Regions from separate parts of the Homo sapiens genome. Here region 1 is linked to region 2. The links are contacts of gene promoters, found by promoter capture Hi-C in human tissues and cell types (Jung and others, 2019). All regions are on one chromosome and are shown on one strand. Each heading gives the region's core, a stretch centred on a gene start or on the middle of the fragment in contact. The rest is flanking DNA. Distances are from core to core; before and after follow the strand shown. Region 1 overlaps RPGR (retinitis pigmentosa GTPase regulator). Region 2 holds the start of OTC (ornithine transcarbamylase).

What was found. Contacts are between HindIII fragments. The study calls those that stand out against the background at their distance.
Region 1: a contact is called between a fragment that was not itself captured here and the fragment with the promoter of OTC in region 2, in 1 of the 25 tissues and cell types used here (ovary).

The regions. Positions count from the first base shown.
Region 1 is chrX:38,311,022-38,315,021 of GRCh38, forward strand. The region is part of intron 6 of RPGR (retinitis pigmentosa GTPase regulator); the gene reads right to left. Among named protein-coding and RNA genes, the nearest start is that of RPGR, 14 kb to the right of the region's middle. The HindIII fragment of the contact is 7,823 bases long and covers 1-4,000 here.
Region 2 is chrX:38,350,293-38,354,296 of GRCh38, forward strand. It overlaps OTC (ornithine transcarbamylase), which reads left to right and starts at 2,312. Exons shown (of 10, transcript NM_000531.6): 1 at 2,312-2,481. The coding sequence starts at 2,405. The HindIII fragment of the contact is 4,808 bases long and covers 1-2,906 here.

The sequences.
Region 1 (4,000 bases), core at 199-2,698, 40 kb before region 2:
ACAAAAGTGAAGAATATCTTGTGTCTTTTACTTACTTAAAGCTCCCATAAAAACATGAATTTTGTCTTGCTCCCTATGGTATCCCCAAAACCTAGCAGTGTCTAGAACAAGCACTTAATATTTGTGGAATAAATGAATGAATAATTGCTTTATATGAAACTGGTTTTAGAAAACTCACTTATGTGTGCAGTAAATATGTTAAGTAAATCTTAAGATAGCAGATTTTACCCATTTAGATGGCACTTCCTCCAAAGACTCTTACCAAGGAGTTCCTGACACTTAATCACTGCCCTGTCCATACTAACGCTATTAATTTGCTTCTTTATTACATTTATCACACTGTATTATGACTGTGAACTTCTTGAAAGCAAGAACTTTCTTATTCATTTCTATGCAATTAACTGAGTTCTATAAAGTAGAATTTAAAAACCTTGTGTAAGTATATGATCCAATCTGAAGAATGACATGGAACATATCACCATTGGTATAAGCAAAGAGACAACAGAGCAGATCTGCTTGCTTATTCTTTGCAAGTCTCTGAGAGAACCATGATTGATCCTTGCCCAACCCCTGAGAAGGTGGCCCCTGGAGTGTTCTTTATGTGAATGATTAATGATTTTGTTATATATACCAGAGCAATGAACTATGCCAGATTAGGTTTGTCAGGGCTGCTTGCACAAACATCAACATTGATGATGTGCACCTGGCTTCATTATTGAGGGTCCTGAGTTTCAGCTGCTGTGGCCAGTTGCTAGCAGGAGGTGCCTACATGACCAGCCCCCTAAATCCCCTAGAAGCAACAGAATGGGCTTCCCTGGGCAGAGACATTCCACACATGTCCCTGTAGTTCACTGCTAAGAAAACATGCCCTGTGTGGTTTCCTAAGAGAAAGTACTAGGAAGCCCAAGCTTGACTTCTCTGGACTCCACTGCAGATGCTTATCTTTTTCCCACTTTTTCTTTTTGCTTTGTATCCTTTGCTGTAATAAATCTTATTCGTAAGTATAATCGCTATTGAAGACTGTGAGTCCTTCTAGAAAATCACAGAACTTCAGGAAGGTGTGGGACAGCCAATGCACAAGATATGCACCACTTAGAACTTGCTCAAATACTGTAAACACAGCTATATTGATTTTCTGAATTGATCTGCACAGAAAATGAAGTTTTATGGACCACAGTTTTCTATGAAGTATTTAGCAAACACTGGCACAAAAGTGGTGCCCAGTAAGTTAGCACCCTTCCATTTTCCCATGCTTGTTGCCTCCCATAGGAAACTGGTTCCTAAGTCCTGATGAGTCTCTCTCCATTTCTGTCTATAGATTCCTGATTCCCTTTACACCTTAACATGAATTTTCACCTGGATCAAGTTTTCCAAATGTCTTTCCTACCTCTAGTCTAACATACCCACACAATATCAGATGCATCTTCCAAAAACAAGGCTCTAATTATGACACTTCCAAATAAAAAAAAAATACATGTATCAAGTACAAACTGCAGACTGTTACAAGAGACCTTCCATATTAGGTTCCCGGACTACTAACCAGTCATATTTCTATCTACTCCCCAACCTGGTGACTCTCTTTTGAGTCACATCCTCCCTTGGGAATTTGATGACAGCTCTATAAAAAAAGTACACATCCCAGCAGGGTGTGATGGCTCATGCCTGTAATCCCAGCAGTTTGGGAGGCCGAGGCTGGTGGATGGCTTGAGTCTAGGAGTTTGAAACCAGTCTGGGCAACATGGTGAAACCCAGTCTCTACAAAGAATACAAAAATTAGCCGAGTGTGGTGGCACGCATCTTTGTCCTAGCTACTCGGAGGAATGAGGTGGGAGGATCACTTGAGCCCAGAAGGTCTAGGCTACAGTGAGCCGTGATTATGCCACTGCACTCCAGCCTGGGCAACAGAGTGAGACCTAGCTCAAAAAAAAAAATGCACCTACCAAATTTAGCATATCATTTCAGGGGTTTACATTCCTTTAGGATCCATGATCCCTAACCTCTAAACAAACAACCTCTAAACAAACTCAACTATGCAATAATCTCCAAATACATGATTTACTTTTCTGTCTCTATATCTCTGCACATGTTTTTGTCTCTGCCTGGATTGTTCTTCCCTCATCTCTGTCTCTCTCAGAGTTGTTTCCATCTTTCATGGTTAATCTCAAATACCACCCTTTCTCTGAAATATGTCCTGACGCCCCTAACAAGAAATAATATTTTTTCTTTCTTGTTCTCACGTAAGACTCTGCTATCAAATGTCTTACGTTACCAATCATGGTCTGCTGTATATTGCAGTTATTGGTCTAGCACAGTAGCAAAAAGTATGTGCTACAGAGTCAGACTGCCTTGTTTGCATGTGGATTCTGCCACTTACTGAGTCATACTGAGCAAGTTGTTCAATCACTGGGCCTGTAACATGGGGATAAAAGTGCCTATGTGATAGGGTTGTTTCATAGGAATAACCGAATTAATGCATTCAAAGGCACATAGAACACATAATCAGTGCCTGGTCATTATTAGTTGCTACCACATCCTCCTCTTCCTCTTGTATATGGAGAGAAACTGCATGTCAGTAGAAATTGTTCAGGCTTTTAGAACTGGAAGACTGGAGTTCGAATTCTGATTCTGCAACTCAATCGCAGCATCACCTTGAATAAAACTGTGTTCTAAACCTGCCTGCATATATGGAATCTCAGATACCACCACCTCTCTCCCAGAGTGGTTGGGAGATTAAATGAAATATATTCGTACTTGAAAATGCTTTGTACATGGAAAAACTATACATCCTATAGTTTGACTGTAAACTTCAGAAGGGTAGGTACTACATTTTAATCAACTTGGTATTGTAAGAAATATCATTTAAAATGACTTTTACATAGTAAGTTGATGAAGTTTCTCACAGTGTCGACTTTTTAAAGTAAAATGTTTTACCTATAAAGCAGGGGTGTCCAATCTTTTGGCTTCCCTGGGCCACACTGGAAGAATTGTCTTTGGTCACACATAAAATACACTAATACTAACGATAGCTGATGAGCTAAAAAAAGAAAAGGTCTGTGCATAAATCTCATGTTTTAAGAAGGTTTACAATTTGTGATGGGCGGCATTCTAAGCCATCCTAGGCTGCGGGTTGGACGAGCTTGCTGTAAAGGGTTAGAAAAGATATTTCCTGTAGCTATCAGTAGGACCTTCCTTAAAGGGGAAGGTGAGTGCTTTTAATCCATATAAAATGTTTTATTTAATTCCAAGGTATTTTTCTTATTTATATATAAAAAATAAAATAACATTTATCACAAAGAATAAATAGGTCATTTCATATCAATTATATCTACTTCACTTAGGCCTATTAATTTTTATAAAATCTGGATTCCTCAAACTCTCTACCTGGCTCTGACAGCTACCTTCCCCAGGATTCTGATCTTAAGCACACTGCCAAGTCTCTATTCTCCAGTATCTGAAGATTGCTCCACAAATTCCTGCCCCCAGTTCCCATAACCCCAACTCATTTACTTATATCCCCTATTGTACTACACCTAATTCAGTGAATCACTGGTTAAAATGCTCAGACCCAACCATTAACATATCAGATGAAAAGACACAGCAATCAGGGATAATACCTGAAAACTCCATAGATTTTATTTATCTATAAGATCTAAAAATTGAATATTTTATATAATTTATAATATGAACTTGAATTGAGAACATGAATTTAAAACACGAACATGAGCATTTAAACATATTAGTAGGTGAAAAATCTGTAGGAAGTCTTAAACATAACTATCTTAGTAATATGTTCTGTATTTTTATTAGGAAATAAACTATTCTGTTTGGAGGTTCCTCAAAAAACTAAAAACAGAGTTACCATATGATCCAGCAATCCCACTGCTGGGTATATACCCAAAAGAAGAGAAACCAGTATATCAAAGAGATATCTGCACTCCCATGTTTGTTGCAGCACTGTTCACAATAGCCAAGATTTGGAAGCAACCTAAGTGTTCATCAA
Region 2 (4,004 bases), core at 1,062-3,561:
CTCTGTCTCTCAGAACCCACACAGCACAGAGGATTGGCTTATGATGGCTGCACAATTGTTGATGGTGGCAGAGAAAAATGGATGAATGAAAGGCTAGGTGAACAAAGAGAACTAGATAGGTAGTGAAACAAGAAAGTTAAAATTGAATTAGAGGAATCATGGGGTCAACAAGAGCCCCTGGATGAATTCTGAGGATGAACATCAAAGCCTGTAAAGTAAAACAGACTCCACATGTGACATAATCAGCAGAAGCTGGGTAGTTGAAATCTACCCCTCAACAAGTTCATTGAGATGCCCTGCCTTTTGAGATTCAGTGAAATTGCTTTTAACTTCATCCCACTTGTGATGCAGCTCCCCTTTTCCAATCCCTCTGGGAGTTATTGGTATCTTAACTTTTTTTTAGTTCCCTCTGGCTTTGAGCTCCTGCATCTGTAGCATTAGGAGGGTTTGTGAGTTGCTTTGGCATCTCAGAAATGCTGCCTGTACTCTCTAGCATGGAACTGCAGACACTTCTTGATTTCTCCCCAAGCATTACCAATATGAGTTGTGTGTATGGCTAGCACAGTTCAGTGAAGATATGGGGTCAAGCTATGGGCTTTATATTAGCCTGTGGTTTGGCCTCATCTCCCTCAGGCTCCATGCAAACGTTCAATTTCACTCCTGTATTATGTGGAGCGCTTTTGCTCTCTGAAACCTATTCAATAACTGGCCTTGTTTGCCTCTTCAAAGATGCTTTATTATGTTTTTTAAATTCACTCTCTCCCTTCTCACCTCTGTACCTTTGCAAGCAGTTGCTTCTGCCTGGAATATCCTTTCCAGAATGGAAGATTTGGTAGAGGTTGGGAAATGTCAGTCTTTCCCCTCACTTTATCTCACATCATTCTCTGTAAGTAGAAGGAAATGGTGACAATATTTATTTCTCTACTAGTATTAATTATGACATCACAAACATCTCGGCTCCTGAGGTGGCCATAGTTGGTCTTTAAATAACACTTTTTGGTATTCCACAAACTTCTGGAAAATATTTACTTGGGTTTGCTAAAGTCATATAAATTGACCAGAAGAGGCAGCCCTACCCCTGCCCCTCCTCTCCTTCCTCCTACCCTTCCTACCTTAGAGGGCTCCCGCTTCTTCGAAGCCAGACAACTTTGTCTGGACCTCTCCTATGGGCTTGTATTATGGATATTTGTTTATAAATCATACCACCTTTACTGAACTGTGAACTCTGCAAAGATGATGTCATCTTCCCTCTCTGAAACTTCAGTGCAGCTCGGTATCTGATACAGAATTGACTTTGAATCACCTGATTTCTAACTGAGGATAAATGAATAAATGTGAAGTTGCAGATGGCCCCTTAGTGATCTGAATAGGCTGCTAGGGGAAGAGCATATGGTATCCCCACTTCCCACTTGTACTGACTGTCAGGTGCTGTTAGAATCAATAGGCAACTATTTCTTTTCTTTTTCTTTCTTTCTTTCTTTTTTTTGAGACAGTGTCTCTCTCTGTCACCCAGGCTGGAGTACAGTGGTGCAATCTGGGCTCACTGCAACCTCTGTCTCCCGGGTTCAAGCGACTCTCATGCCTCAGCCTCCCAAATAGCTGGGATTACAGGTGTGCACCACCACGTCTAGCTAATTTTTGTATTTTTAGTGGAGACGGGGATTCACCATGTTGGCCAGGCTGGTCTCGAACTCCTGGGCTCAAGTGATCCGCCCGCCTCAGCCTCCCAAAGTGCTGGGATTACAGGCGTGAGCCACCGTGCCCGGCCAGCAATTATTTCTTTATTGAAGACTTATGTGCAAGGCACAAAGGGAGCTCCAGGACTGAGATATTTTTACTATACCTTCTCTATCATCTTGCACCCCCAAAATAGCTTCCAGGGCACTTCTTTCTATTTGTTTTTGTGGAAAGACTGGCAATTAGAGGTAGAAAAGTGAAATAAATGGAAATAGTACTACTCAGGACTGTCACATCTACATCTGTGTTTTTGCAGTGCCAATTTGCATTTTCTGAGTGAGTTACTTCTACTCACCTTCACAGCAGCCGGTACCGCAGTGCCTTGCATATATTATATCCTCAATGAGTACTTGTCAATTGATTTTGTACATGCGTGTGACAGTATAAATATATTATGAAAAATGAGGAGGCCAGGCAATAAAAGAGTCAGGATTTCTTCCAAAAAAAATACACAGCGGTGGAGCTTGGCATAAAGTTCAAATGCTCCTACACCCTGCCCTGCAGTATCTCTAACCAGGGGACTTTGATAAGGAAGCTGAAGGGTGATATTACCTTTGCTCCCTCACTGCAACTGAACACATTTCTTAGTTTTTAGGTGGCCCCCGCTGGCTAACTTGCTGTGGAGTTTTCAAGGGCATAGAATCGTCCTTTACACAATTAAAAGAAGATGCTGTTTAATCTGAGGATCCTGTTAAACAATGCAGCTTTTAGAAATGGTCACAACTTCATGGTTCGAAATTTTCGGTAAGTGATGGTCAGAGACTTGGGTTTGATTTAGGAATCATGGTGATGCATAAAACTATATTCTGCAGTAAGGCCTCTTTCTGCAGAATGTAGTGCCACGCTCTGCTTTACTCTTATTTGAGACAGCTGCCTCTAATTCCAGCAAAGCTTTCATTTCTCAGTCCTTCTGTAATCAGATTTCACCGTGTGCTGTAGGGGAAGCCACCCATGGCAGGTATAACAGACTAAACGTTCTTGACATCTTTCGTTTGTGTACATTCTAAACGAGCAAGTGGCTGAAGGAAATTAGGGGAAGTAATTTACACAGGGCCTTCAGCTTATATTTGGGCTTGCTATAAAACAATATATCACTCTAAGATGTTGAGACTAATCAGTTCTTTTGAAAAAACAGACTCCAAGTAGCAACTAATAAATACTGACAAAGCTGCTGCAAAGACGCCTTATATGTGATGGGGATAACGACATTTTTAAATAAAATACAAGTTTGAAAACCATCCCTGAAATTCTTGCTGGCATGTGCAAAGCAGGCTGTCTCCAATGAATTCATTATAAAAGTTTACATCCTGCTTACAACCATTGTGCATGTGGTTGAAGATGGCATGGAGTGTGTCTGTGGGGAAGGGAAAGGGGAAGGGGAAGGGAACAGGGGAGATGAGTTAGCTGGGTAAACAAGGCCATCAGGTGGAGACATCACTACCAGAAAGCTTCTAGAACAGTTTCATGTTAATAATGAGACAGAATTTCTTCAGAGCCTCTTTATAACCTAAAGCAACCTTCCCGACTTCCTTAAGGAAGAAGCTTTTGGTCTGAAGTTTTCTTTTATTATTAGTAAGTGGACCTGTGATAGTGGCCCTGGGCATCCCTTCTCTGGAGCAGCTGACAGTTCTAGGTTCTCTGGACTCCACCATTAGCACTACTTCTTTAGTGAATATAAGGCTCTCAGAAGTCAGAATGATACCGTAAATAATATTGTAAATTAAGCCCATAATATTAGACCTAGTTGAGACCTCAGAGCCATGAAATAATGCCTTCTCTTATTTTATTTTGGGAGGAAATGTGATTTTTATTTCTTAAACAGCTCAAATATTCAATTGAAATTGTTTCACTTCTCTTATTTCAAGTATAAGGTAAAAAAAGCCCAGAATGACTGTGGGGTTTACCAATTAGTGCCAGAGTTAGATCAGATAACAACCTGGAGAAAAGTTTAAAGAACTAGGTTCAAGGCCTAGCACCACCCTTGCTGGCTATATGACCTTGAACAAGTCACTAAACTTTTCTGCAATGTTGTTTCACCTATAAAATGGAAAAAAGGATAATACCTGTTCTGCCTACATTACAGGGTGGTTCAATCATTCCTTCAACAAATATTAATTGAACATCTACTTTGTGCCATGCCCTATCAAGGAGTTGGAGATACGGTGGTAAATAACGTAAAAATATACTTCACTCCAGCTACATGAATTCATAGTCTAGTGATAATCAGTGAGATAATGTATATGAAACCTAAAAAGTGACAGACCAAT